Linked DNA regions of Homo sapiens: all the other regions are linked to region 1. Evidence: promoter capture Hi-C in 16 types of primary human blood cells and fetal thymus (Javierre and others, 2016). All regions are on one chromosome and are shown on one strand. Each heading gives the region's core, a stretch centred on a gene start or on the middle of the fragment in contact. The rest is flanking DNA. Distances are from core to core; before and after follow the strand shown.

Evidence for each region. Contacts are between HindIII fragments. The CHiCAGO score rates a contact against its expected background, and 5 or more counts as called.
Region 2: a contact is called between a fragment that was not itself captured here and the fragment with the promoter of FKBP9 in region 1, in 1 of 17 cell types (total B cells). The highest score is 6.5, in total B cells.
Region 3: a contact is called between a fragment that was not itself captured here and the fragment with the promoter of FKBP9 in region 1, in 1 of 17 cell types (erythroblasts). The highest score is 5.0, in erythroblasts.
Region 4: a contact is called between a fragment that was not itself captured here and the fragment with the promoter of FKBP9 in region 1, in 1 of 17 cell types (neutrophils). The highest score is 6.7, in neutrophils.
Region 5: a contact is called between a fragment that was not itself captured here and the fragment with the promoter of FKBP9 in region 1, in 1 of 17 cell types (neutrophils). The highest score is 5.8, in neutrophils.

The regions. Positions count from the first base shown.
Region 1 is chr7:32,956,160-32,958,859 of GRCh38, reverse strand. It overlaps FKBP9 (FKBP prolyl isomerase 9), which reads right to left and starts at 1,420. Exons shown (of 10, transcript NM_007270.5): 1 at 1,066-1,420. The coding sequence starts at 1,286. RefSeq lists a silencer at 1,164-1,633 and enhancers at 1,724-1,773, 1,623-2,573. The HindIII fragment of the contact is 4,605 bases long and covers 1-1,803 here.
Region 2 is chr7:33,097,897-33,100,596 of GRCh38, reverse strand. RP9 (RP9 pre-mRNA splicing factor) reads left to right here. Exons shown (of 6, transcript NM_203288.2): 2 at 36-66; 3 at 1,161-1,290. Among named protein-coding and RNA genes, the nearest start is that of RP9, 10 kb to the left of the region's middle. The HindIII fragment of the contact is 2,651 bases long and covers 1-2,575 here.
Region 3 is chr7:32,767,839-32,770,538 of GRCh38, reverse strand. No RefSeq gene overlaps it. Among named protein-coding and RNA genes, the nearest start is that of LINC00997, 11 kb to the right of the region's middle. The HindIII fragment of the contact is 240 bases long and covers 1,131-1,370 here.
Region 4 is chr7:33,116,358-33,119,057 of GRCh38, reverse strand. No RefSeq gene overlaps it. Among named protein-coding and RNA genes, the nearest start is that of RP9, 8.3 kb to the right of the region's middle. The HindIII fragment of the contact is 8,233 bases long and covers 1-2,700 here.
Region 5 is chr7:33,141,435-33,144,134 of GRCh38, reverse strand. The region is part of intron 1 of BBS9 (Bardet-Biedl syndrome 9); the gene reads right to left. Among named protein-coding and RNA genes, the nearest start is that of BBS9, 13 kb to the right of the region's middle. The HindIII fragment of the contact is 4,729 bases long and covers 1-2,700 here.

The sequences.
Region 1 (2,700 bases), core at 171-2,670:
GAGGAGTAGCCTGGTGCTGGACGAAGAGAGGCCTGTTAACCCCGAACCTAAACTGGAGGGAAACGGGAGAGCAGTGCTGTGATCCTGAGGCAGAGCTGAGAGAAGGAGTTCTGGGCTTGATATAGGGCCTGGTATAAAGCAGAGTGACGGTCCTGGACTACCTCCTGCCCACGAGAGGTGTCGTGTTGTGTTTTGTTTTGTGATGGGATCTCTCTCTGTCTCCCAGGCTGCAGTGCAATGGCACGATCATAGCTCACAGCAGCCCCAAACTCCTGGGCTCAAGCGATCCTCCCGCCTCGTTCTCTCAAAGTGCTGGGACTACAGGCGTGAGCCACCACGCCCAGCCCCAAGAGAGGTTTTTGTATGGCAGGAAAGGAAGGGCAGTGGTAGTTGCGCACACAGACTCTGGAGTTGGATTAAACAATCTGACTCCATTGTTTAAACACGTTTCTTAGCCGCAGTTGCTTGTTACCTTACTGATAAAATGAGGGTAGTGATAGTACCTACCTCACAAGACTGCTGTACAATTAAATGAGTTCACTACAATATGGAAAGTACTTAGAACTACACCTACACATTGTTAACAGCTCATTGTATGTTTGGGGCTGCTAGCCTCTTCATCATTGTTCTGTGTGAGAAGCACCATCTGACTAGATTCCCAAGGGAGCGGAGGGAAGGAACAGGAAAGGGCGAAGAGAGGCAGGCACGAACATCCACTCTTGGGGGTCCAGTTGTGCAACGTGGCCTCCACTTACACTGATTATTTTACACTGATTTTGCGTGTGTCCATGCGCTGGGAGGAAAGGGAGGACGTGGTCTGCCCCAACCCCGCTGCTCAAGGTCCTCCAAGGGTCCAGTCCCCGGCTGGCAGCCTAGGGCACGTGAGGGCCGGGAGGCTCACCCGCGGCGGAGGGTCTGGGGTCCGGGAGGATCTGGGCAGCGGAAGAAGGGAGGAGCGCGGCTGCACGGGGCGGAGCTAGGGGAGGTCCGGCAGGAGGGAAAGGCCTGTCCGGAGAGAGGGACGCGCATCCGCTGAGGCCGCGCCGGGCGCCAAGGGCGCGGTACCTGGAGTCGAACTTCTGGCCGTCGGGGAACGTCCCCACGTAGTGGTAGCGCACGAAGTCGCCGCTGCGCACGGTGCGCGGGCACTCGTCGGGCACGAAGCGCCGCTCGATCTGCAGCTCCGCGTCGGAGCCCAGGCCCGCCACGGGCGCTGCCTGCCCGGTCACCCAGAGCAGCAGCAGGAGCAGCGGTGGCGGCGGGGGCCTCCAGCCCCGGAACGCCATCGGGGCGGCGAGAAGAGTGGCGCGGACGCAGCGCGGCGCTCGGGCGGCACGGGTCGGCCTGGGCGTTCGGCTGCGTTTGCAAACGTGGACCGGGTCTCCTGGCCCTACCCGGGCTGCAGCCGCCACCCCGTCTCCCCGGCCGCCCGCCCTCCCGGCCGCAGCTCCAGGGGAGGAGCCCAGCCTGGCCGCGCGCCGAGGGCGGGCCTGCTGCGCCCTGCCCCGCCCGGCATTGGGAATGTGCGTGCCGCAGCGGGGAGGGGGGCTGGGAACTCCAGTGGGGACCAAGTCTGGGCCTAGAGAGGGCGTGTCCCCGAGCGAGACACTGTGATCTCCGGACAAGGCTTTGGCCCAAAGTCGGAAGAGAAAAGCGCGTACTGCCCAAGCCCACCCGCTGGTCTCCGCCCGTCCCTGGAGACACCGGGTTTGGTGCCGTGAGGGGCTCCTACGTGGCCGTGGATCCAATTTTCCCTTGCTGCTTTGGAGAGGGAGGGAAAATTAGATTTTAATTTTTTAAGCTTAGTTACAAGGGTATGGTCTACCTTGAAAGAGACCGAAACCATCCTTCAGGACTTTTTTTTTTTTTTTTTAATACTGCTTAAAGGAAAAGGAAGGCCGGGCGCCGTGGCTCACGCCTGTAATCCCAACGCTTTGGGAGGCCAAGGCAGGCGGATCACGAGGTCAGGAGATGGAGACCATCCTGGCCAACATGATGAAACCCCGTCTCTACTAAAAATACAAAAAAATTAGCCAGGCTTGGTGGCGCGTGCCTGTAGTCCCAGCTACTCGGGAGGCTGAGGTAGGAGAATCGCTGGAACCCGGGAGGCGGAGGTTGCAGCGAGCCGAGATCGCGCCACTGCACACCAGCCCTGGCGACAGTACGAGACACTGTCTCCAAAAAAAGAAAAGGGAGGCATGTATTGCGAGAGGCTCCCGTGACACTTGTCTAGGCAAAAGTTTTAAGGCACCGTGAGGGTCCTCCAAGCCATCAGCGGCCGCACTGTGAGCTGATACTTGCAGACATCCTACAAGCTCCCATATACGAGCCTATGCCAGGGAGGACTTCATCATAGAGACCCAGAAGCCACAGGAATCCATTAGAGTAATCAGATGCACTTGGAATTGGAATTGGGTGTTATAATTTATTAAAATTTTGGAATAATGAAAGCAAATCACCAACTCTTTCTCAACTCGTTTTGGAAGCAAACACAATTCTGATACCAAAACCTGGCAAAGAGAGCAACAAAAAAGAAAAATAAAACTGAAAAAACAGGGCACGATCTAATTTATAAATATAAATGCAAAAATACTGAATAAAACGTAATAAAATCGGATTCAACCGCATATTAGGCCAGGCGCAGTGGCTCACACCTGTAACCCTAGCACTTTGGGAGGCCGAGGTGGTTGGATCACCTGA
Region 2 (2,700 bases), core at 1-2,500, 140 kb before region 1:
ACATGGTTGATAAGGTTTTGTTTTTTGTTTTCCAGTTACGAAAAACCTCCTCCTGGGCTTATCAAGGTTAGTGTGAAGTTTGTACTCTTGGTTATTCCACAAGACATACTTGTAGACTCAGTAACTTGTTATGAAAAATAATTGCATGATGTTAAATCTCCTTTTACCAAAAGCCTGTTTCTTTTCCTGCAGATGAATGAGGGGTCATAATTTTTAGTTTTGTCACAAGCCTCTGCCTTTGCAGAAATTTCATCAGCCATGTTTCCCTTCCCTGAAGAACCAGTGCAGGCCCACGTGGATTCCTTGGCCATGCCCCTCTTCTCTCTTGCTGGGGATGGCATCTCTAAGCTCCTTTTCCTTGTCGGCCTCACCCGGCTCAGCCCCTCGGTCCATCCTCTGCTGGTTTCTTGAGCTCAGCAGCTCAGAGAGCAGTAAACTCTGAGGAGATCTGACAGCTATCCAGTCCCGCTCCCTGGTACAGGCATCCCTCCTGCAGCTCCCTGGCCAAGGTGCCAGGGTGTGTGTGCACGAGGGAGACTTAGAGTGGCAGGCCACGGCCAAGAAAACTTGCTGTTTCATAACTCTCAGCGAAGAAATATTCTTTAAAAACATGAGTCTATTGTAAATTTAATATTCATAGAAACTTGAAAAAAATCCAAAAGTTTGAAAACACATTAATTGTAAATGCAGTTATTGAGTGGTAAAAATGTACATCAGAGATATAGCATGTGTGTGACTGTAAAACATGACAGGGCCTTCAGGGTATAATAAACTATTCTAGCATAACAGGCCATTTCTATTATTCCAGGAAGCCTGGTTTACTTTAATTCTATATTTTGAGGTAGTGAAACTTTTTTTTTTTAATCTCAGAATCTTATTTGGAGCTCCCCAGTCATTGCTATATAAGGACAGATTTTTCTGCTTCACCAGTAACTTTTCTCTAAGAACAGCTACATTGTTTTTGGTATAGTTCTTCTGGTACATTTGTTTCCTGTTTTTTCAATCAGGTGTAACTTGTCTTTTTTTCTAGTTTTGAGGGGTAACTAAGATGATGTTGGCACCGGAAGCCCAGGAAAAAGCCAGGCAAGGGTGGCTCCAAGGGGAGCAGGAGAGAATCCCAGCGCTCTTGCCATGCTGTTTATACCTGTTCCCTTTTTTAGGAAGATGAGACTAAGCCAGAAGATTGCATACCAGATGTACCAGGCAATGAACACGCCAGGGAATTTCTGGCTCATGCACCAACTAAAGGACTTTGGATGCCACTGGGGAAAGAAGTCAAAGTTATGCAGTGTGAGTGTGGGAGAGTTTCCCTAATCCATGCAACTTACATGCCTCAATTTACAAAGAGTGTTTACTTCTTTTATTTAACTTGTTCTCATCACAGCCCTCTTACAGCCAAGGCACGTTCTCCATCTTCTAGATAAGGAAGCATCCACCCCACCCCCCACCACCGTGCCATGTGAAGAAGAAAGAGGGCTGTCATCTTAAGCCAGGAAGAAAGCTCTCACCACAAACCCACCTTGCTGGGACCCTGATCTCAGATTTCCAACCTACAGAATGAATGAGAAAACCAGTTTCTGTTGTTTAGGCCACCCAGAATACGGCATTTTGTTATGTCAGCCCGAGCTGACTAAGACACCATCTTTCTGCAGGTCCCCTTAGCCTCTCTCCCGTGTTGGATCACCCATTTTCCTGTGTCTTGAGTCTTCTTTATTATCATATTCTCTCCTTATGGTGTAACAAATCCTATGGCTGTTACCTTCAAAATGGGTTTATAGAAGATAAAAATGTTAAGACCTTTACTTTTCTGGAATCGTCTTTAACAGATTTTTAACTACCAGGATATTGAATTCTAATTTAAAAATCAGTTTCCTTGAGAATTTTGATGGGAATGCTTCATTGCCTTGATTATTTGTTAAAAGCAAAGACAACGTGCCTCAGAGTTCAGTATCTATCGGTTTTTCTTCTTTGGGTGGGTTATATTTTCCCAGAGAAGGCTCCCACGTGGAGGGAAAGCCATACTATGAGTGTTCTGGGAGCCGAGTGGAGGGAGTCTGGAAATGTGTCCATCTGCTTTTCATTCATTCGTGTGACCCTTTGTGGCTATTGCAGCAGCTTCCTTCAGACCTACCTGATGTCTCCCTGGTCTCCCTGGCCAGAGACCCTCTGTTTTACCTTTTCCACACATTAAACAACCTTCTACCAGGGTCAGGAAAACAGGGTCTCACTCTGTCACCCGGGCTGGAGTGCAGTGGTGTGATCACAACTTACTGCAGCCTCAACCTCCCAGAATCAGGTGATCTCACATCAGCCTCTGAGATAGCTGGGACTACAGGCATGCGCCACCAGGCTTAGCTAATTTTTTTGTACTTTTGTAGAGATAGGGTTTCACCATGTTGCCTAAGCTAGTCTCGAACTCCTGGCCTCAAGCGATCTACCCGCCTCTGCCTCCCAAAGTGCTAGGATTACAGGTAGGAGCCACTGTGCCCAGCCACCATTAATATTCTAAGAGAACTTGTGATTTTATTTACTTAAAAGTGAGAGTTTTGAACAGACTCAACCTGAGAAAGAAGCTTTTATAGTGTCTAAAATAGTAAATGAGAAGCAGAGATACTTTATGAAAACATTTACTCTGAAAAATATACTGAAACACACTTTAAAAAAAATGTACCTTTTGGGCCGGGCGTGGTGGCTCACGCC
Region 3 (2,700 bases), core at 1-2,500, 190 kb after region 1:
CAACAGATTAAGTGCAGAGGGAGATTAAAATACTCTTTTTTTTGCTAACTACATATTTGTGAGGACTGATTTTCCTTATATATTTCCATCAAAACAGCATATTGCAACAGATTGAATGCAGAAGATATGAAAATCTGTCTTCTATTAAGTCAAACTTAAAGAGATTTGCATAAAGTTAAAACAATGTCACTTTTCTCACTAAATTTTTGTTGAAAATAGTTATTTTCATATAAAAGATATTTCTGTTAATATAGTGAGTTTATTATTGTTATTTGTAAATGATTTATAAACAAATATTTTTTCATTTTAAAGTTTTAACATGAATGGATTATAAATATCCATGTAAATATCAATGCATACAATACACTTAAGCAATCATAAAGGACTTGTTTGGTCTTTTTGAGGCCAAAATATTTAAGAATGGCTGCTCTAGAGTGCTTTGATAAGGGATCACATCAGCATGTTGGTATAGCCCTCAAAACACCTCTGCAGAGGTGTCCTTCCTTGTTCCAAGACATCACATCAACACATGGCCATATTTCCCAACTTGGCTCTCATTTGGACATTTATATGCATACATAACCACATTAGATTAAAGTCTATCTTTATGTGAAAAAAATGCATTTAATCTCTAGTGGAAAGAGGAAGAATTAGAGATGTCTTGAGTTTACCAGCAGATATCTAGATGGTTAGAAGAAGTGATAAAGTTGGACTCTTAGGAGGTAACATTCGTATTCCAGTTGGACCAGGGGAAAACATTTAGATGTAAGCAAAGGAGGCCTACACAGTTCCTGGCCATGAGGTACGTGAGCTCTGACCCCCTGGGATGCTCCTAATTACCATCCCATTGAAGAGTTGCACCAGAGCCACCTGGATAAATCACCTGGGTGAGTTGCTGTAAATACAGATTTCCATGTTCTACTCAGAACCCAGTAAGTCAGAATCGAGGTTGGGGGTTCAGAAATCTGGATAAAAAATAAATTCCTTGAGTGATTCATGATGCAGCCAGGCTTGAGAACATTGGATTGGCCTCCTTAAAGTCTGTCAGATAGTTATGATGATGTTTGAGTTACACTGTTTGCCACAAATAGCTCTTCCAGTTGCCTACCATGGGCCCAAAGTCCCAAGCTTTGGTGATGAGTTCTTTGGGGTTAGAGCAGCAATATCTCCAGTGTTCCCTATATAGAGGATGAATCTTCTCCTGAGGAATGCTGTGTTCAGCTGTGCTCTGGGGCTAACATCACCGCATAGTGGGGTATTATGCACTTGAGATCTCCACCCTGGGGGACAAGGAAGGGCAGAAAGAATGAAAACAAGCAGGAGGAGACTCTTTGGATGAATATTGAAGTGGGAAACCAGGAGCAAAAGCTTAAGGATTCCAGGTCCCCTTGGCAGGCAAGAAGAGAACAGAAGATGGATATTGATTTCTTCTGAACTGACTCACAATGCTCTGTGGAGGAGCCAAGTCGTTTCTGCAAACTTTGAAAAATGTTGGCATCAGTGTTCCTGCTATCACTGGATGCTAGTCATAGATGATGGCTGTGAACACAGAGAAGGATCTTTCAGCTGTCTCTGCTGTTTTCTGTATGTAACCGAGACCCAGTTGATCACCTCCCTGTTTCTAGTCTGGCTCCCTTCTCTGCACTGCTTCCAAAATAACCTGAACACCCTTGAACCTGCCAGCTAGAGCAAAAAAGAGACTCTGCCAGCCCCTCTCTGTACATCTCCTCCCTCTCCCCACAAAGATATTTCAATCTGGACTCTTACAAAAAGTGATTTCCTGCTTTGCTTTAGAGTTTTATCACTGATATGGTTTGGCTCTGTGTCCCCACCCAAATCTCATCTTGTAGCTCCCATAATTCCCACGTGTTGTGGAAGGGACCCAGTGGGAGATGACTGAATCATGGGGATGGGTCTTTCCTGTACTGTTCTTGTGATAGTGAATGGGTCTCACAAGATCTGATGGTTTTAAAAATGGGAGTTTCTCTGCACAAGGTTGCTCTTTGACTGCTGCCATCCATGTAAGATGTGACTTGCTCCTCCTTGCCTTCTGCCATGATTGTGAAGCCTCCCCAGCCATGTGGAACTGTAAGTCCAATAAACCTCTTTCTTTTGTAAATTGCCCAGTCTTGGGTATGTCTTTATCAGCAGTGTGAAAAATGGACTAATACAATTACCTATGTGTGCATTGCCAAATATGATAATTTAATTTTGGCTAGTTTTGAATTTCATATAAATGAGATCATATGATATCTTTAATGTCTCTGTCTTTGACCTTTATATTATGTTTTTAGAAGTTTTTTTATGTTGCTGCAAGCATATGCAGTTTCTTCATTTTTTTTTGTTGCTGTAAAGTATTCCATTGTATGAAATATACCATAGTTTATTTATCTATTCTACTGCTAATGGGCATTTGTTTTGCCTCCAATTTGAGGCTCTTATAATTAGTGCTATTAAGAATATTTTTTCATATCTATTATGGTGTATATCAGTCTGATAGTCTTTGATTATTAACTGGGGCATTTAATCTCTTTGCACTTATAATTACTAATAAGTTTGGATAAAAAAACCACCATCTTCCTATGTGTTTTCTGTTTATCCTAGCTGTTTTATGTCCCTGTTTCTCTCTTTTCTTGCTTTCTTTCAAATTGTTTGAGTGACTTGTCACTCAGCTTTCCTTCTCTTTTAGTCTGAAAGATA
Region 4 (2,700 bases), core at 3-2,502, 160 kb before region 1:
CTCCAAAACCTAAACAGACCAATAACAAGTAACGAGATTTAAGCCATAATAAAAAAGTCTCCCAGTAAGGAAAAGCCCAAGACCCAGTGGCTTCACTGCTGAATTCTACCAAACATTTAAGGAAGAAATAATAACAATCCTACTCAAGGTATTCTGAAAAATAGAGGAGGAGGAAATACTTCCAAACTCATTCTATGAGGCCAGTACCCTGATATGATAACCAGACAAAAACACATCAAAAAAAGAAAACTACAGGCCAATATATCTGATGAATATTGATGTAAAAATCCTCATCAAAATACTAGCAAATCAAATTCAAGAATATATTAAAAGATATTCATCACGACCAAATGGGATTCATCCCTAGCATGCAAGGATGGTTCAACATATGCAAGTAAAACAATGTGATACATCATATCAACAGAATGAAGGACAAGAACCATATGATCATTTCAATTGATGCTGAAAAAGCATTTGATAAAATTCAACATCCATTCATGATAAAAACCCTCAAAAAACTAGGCAAGGAAGAAACATACCTAAACATAATTAAAGCCGTATACGGCAGACCCATAGCTAGTATCATACTGAATGGGGAAAAATGGAAAGCCTTTCCTCTATTATCTGGAAAACAGCAAGGATGCCCACTATTATTCAACATAGTATTGAAAGTCCTAGATAAAGCAACCAGACAAGAGAAAGAAATAAAAGGCATCCAAATTAGAAAGAAAGAAGTCAAATTACTCTTGTTTGCAAATGATATGACCTTATATTTGGAAAAACCTAAACACTCCACCAAAAACTATTAGAACTGATATATTCAGTAAAGTTGTAAGATACAAAATCGACATACAAAAATCAGTAGGATTTCTATATGCCAACAGTGAACACTGAAAAATAAATTCAAAAAGGAATTCCATTTATAATAGCACACATAAAATTAAATACTTAGGAATTAACTTACCCAAAGTGAAAGATCTCTGCAATGAAAACTATGGGCCAGGCGTGGTGGCTTATGCCTGTAATCCCATCACTTTGGGAGGCCAAGGGAAGTGGATCACCTGAGGTCAGGAGTTTGAGATCAGCCTGGCCAACATGGTGAAACCCCATCTCTACTAAAAATACAAAAATTAACCAGGCATGGTGGTGTATGCCTACAGTTCCAGCTACTTAAGAGGCTGAGGCAGGAGAATCACTTGAATCCAGGAGGTGGAGGTTGCAGTGAGCCGAGATTGTGACACTGGACTCCAGCCTGGGCGACAGAACAAGACTGTCTCAAAAAAAAAAAAAAAAAAAAAAAAAAAAGAAAGAAAGAAAGAAAAAGGAAAAAAAGAAAAGAAAAAGAAAACTATAAAACATTGAGGCAAGAAATTGAAGAGGACAGAAAAAAAATGGAAAGATATTCCACATTCATGTATTGGAAGACTCAATATCGTTTAAACGTTCATATTACTCAAAGCATTCTACAGAATCAATGCAATCCCTATCAAAATACCAATGTAATTCTTTACAGAGATAGAAAAACAATCCTACAATTTACGTGGATCCACAAAAGACCACAATGGCCAAAGCTATCCAGAGCAAGAAGAACAAAACTGGAAAAATCACATTACCTGACTTCAAATTAAATTACAGAGCTATAGTAACCAAAACATCATGGTACTGGCCCAGAGACACACAGACAATGGAACAGAATAGAGAACCCAGAAATAAACTCATACACAGTGAACTCATTTTCGACAAAGGTGGCAAAAACATATACTGGGGAAAAGACCATCTCTTTAATGAATGGTGTTTGGTAAACTGAATATCCATATGCAGAAGAATGAAACTAGACTCCTGTCTCTTGCCATATACAAAAATCAAATTAAAATAGATTAAAGACTTAAATCTAAGACCTCAAACTATGAAACTACTACACAGAACATTGGGGAACATACCTAGGACATTGGGCAAAAATTTCTTGAGTTAACTCCCATAAGTACAGGCAACCAAAGCCAAAATGGAGAAACAGGAACACATTAAGTTAAAAAAAACTTCTGCACAGAGAAGGAAACAATTAACAAAGTGAAGAGACAACCCACAGAAAGGGAGAAAATATTTGCAAACTACCCTTTTGACAAGGGATTAATAAGCAGAATATATAAGGAGTTCAAACAACTCTATAGGAAAAAATCTAATAATCCAATTAAAAATGGGCAAAAGATTTGAATAGACATTTCTAAAAAGAAGACATGCAAATGGCAATCAGGCATATGATCATCAGAGAAATGCAAATCAAAACTACAATGAGATATCATCTCACCCCAGTTAAATGGCTTATGCTCAAAAGACAGGCAATAATAAATGTTGGCGAGGATGTGGGAAAAAAGGGAACCCTCATATACTGTTGGAAGGGATGTAAATTAATATAGCCACTATGGAAAACACTTTGGAGGTTCTTCAAGAAACTAAAAATAGAGTTACCATATGATCCAGCAATCCCACTGCTGGCTATATACCCAAAAGAGACGAAATCAGTATGTCGAAGAGATATCTGCACTTGCATGTTGGTTTGCAATAGCCAAGATTTGGAAGTAACCTAAGTGTCCATCAACAGATGAATGGATAAAGAAAATGTGGTACATATACACAATGGAGTACTATTCAACCATAAAGGAAGAATGAGATCCTGTCATTTGCAACAACATAGATGGAACT
Region 5 (2,700 bases), core at 153-2,652, 190 kb before region 1:
AAGGTTACTAAAAGTTACTGAACATCTCTGTACTTTCGCTTTCTCATTTACAAAATAAAGGTAAGAGTGGTGTTGTGATGATTAAATAAGAATGCAGTTTCCTACAGAACTGGAAAAAATATGTGCAAGTCATATATATGATAAGGAATTAATATCCAGGATACATAAAGAACTCCTACAACTCAACAACAACAACAAAAACAAACCATCCCATTAAAAAATGGGCAAAAGAACCTGAACAGACACATCTCCAAAGAAGATACACAAATGAGCTGGGTGCGGTGGCTCATACTTGTAATCCCAGCATCTTGGGAGGCAGAGGCAGGAGGATCACTTGGGGCCAAGAGTTCAAGACCAGCCTGGCCAACATAGTGAAACCTCATCTCTACTAAAATACAAAAATTAGCCAGGCATGGTAGTGGGCACCTGTAATCCCAGCCACTCAGGAGGCTAAGGCAAAAGAACTGCTTGAACCCAGGAGGCGGAGGTTGCAGTGAGCCAAGGTCATGCCACTGTACTCCAGCCTGGGTTACGGAGTGAGGCTCTGTCTCAAACAACAACAAAAAAGATATACAAATGGCCAAGGAGCATATGAAAAGATGCTCAAAATCACTAATTTTGAACTGAAAATCAGTTCAAAATTTTTGATTTGCATATCAAAACAATATCACCTCACATCCATTATCAAAAAAAACAAAAATATATTCGACCTAAGAATGATGATTGCAAGAAGAAAAAAACACAAAATAACAAGTGTTGGCAAGGACATGGAGAAATTGGAATCTCTGTACGCTGTTGGTGGGAATATAAAATGGTGTAGCTACTATGGAAAACAGTGGGTAGGTCCCACAAAAAATTAAACATAGGGCCGGGCACAGTGGCTCAGGCCTGTAATCCCAGCACTTTGGGATGCCAAGGCGGGTGGATCATGAGGTCAGGAGATCGAGACCATCCTGGCTAACACAGTGATACCCCGTCTCTACTAAAAATATAAAAACTTAGCCAGGTGTGGTGGCAGGCGCCTGTAGTCCCAGCTACTCGGGAGGCTAAGGCAAGAGAATGCCATGAACCTGGGAGGCAGAGGTTGCAGTGAGCCGAGATCGCGCCACTGCACTCCTGCCTGGGCGACAGAGCGAGACTCCATCTCAAAAAAAAAAAAGTTAAACCTAGAAATTTTGATCCAGCCATCCCACTTCTTGGTGGATATCCAAAAGAATTAAAGACAATCTCAGAGAGATATTTTTACACACGGATTTACTGTATCATAATTCACAATAACCAAGAGGCAGAACCAACCTAAACATCCATCAATGGATAAATGGATAAAGAAAATGTGGTATACCCATACAATGGAATATTATGCAGCCTTAAAAAGGAAGGAAACTGACATCTGCTATGTAGATGAACCTTGAGGACATCATGTTAAGTAAAATAAGCCAGTCACAAAAAGACAAATACCATATGATTCCACTTATGTGAGGTACCTAGAATAGTCACAGAAACATTAAGAATGGTGATTGTCAGGGGCTAGGGAGAAAGGAGAACTGTTAATAGGTATATAGTGTTGACTTCGCAAGATGAGAAGTTCTGGAGATTGGTTGCACAATAATGTCAATTTACTTACCATTACTGAACTATATAGTTAAAAATGGTTAGATGTTCAATTTTATGTCACATTATTTTACCACAATTAAAAATAAAAAATATACAGTTTTAGTTTTTTACAAAAAGGAATACAGTAGACCACTTAGTACAATACCTGGCACATAATAAGCACTCAATAAGTGTTAGCCATTGCTCTGGTTTTGATCCCCTTTTATGATGTTTTAAACTTACATTAAAGAAAAAAACTCAGTGTTCTGGTTAAACACACTATGGTACATCTACACCATACCAATATAACTTGAGAATTTAGGCCAGGCGCGGTGGCTCACACCTGTAATCCCAGCACTTTGGGAGGCCGAGGCGGGCGGATCACGAGGTCAGGAGATCAAAACCATCTTGGCTAACACGGTGAAACCCCGTCTCTACTAAGAATACAAAAAATTAGCCGGGCGGGTAGTCCCAGTTACTCGGGAAGCTGAGGCAGGAGAATGGCATGAACCCGGGAGGCAGAGCTTGCAGTGAGCCGAGATAGCACCACTGCAGTCCGGCCTGGGCAAAAGAGCGAGACTCCATCTCGAGAAAAAAAAAAAGAATTTAAAACATAACTGACACTTGCAACTTGGATAGACTGCAAGAGCATTATGCTGAATGAAAAAAAAATCCAAAAAGCTAAAATATTAAATAATTACATTTCTAACTCTCAAAATGACAAAATCATACTAATGTAGAACAGATAGGTGGTTGCTAGGTTTACAGGAGGGTGTAACTATGAGGAGCTAATAATAAAAGGCAATTTCTTTGGGATTAATTTCTTAGAACTATCTACAAAAAAAAAGTGCATCTAACATAAAACCTGGTAAAATCCAAATCAAATCTATAGTTTAACTTTAGTATTATACTAACATCAATTTAATGGTGGGCTGGGCACGGTGGCTAACATCTATAATTAGCCTGGGCAACATAGGGAGACCCCATCTCTACAAGGAATAAAAAAATTAGATGGGCATAGTGGTCCATGCCTGTAGTCCCAACTACTGTCAGGAGTCTGAGGTGAGAGGATCAATTGAGCCCAGGAGTTCGAGGCTGCAGTGAGCT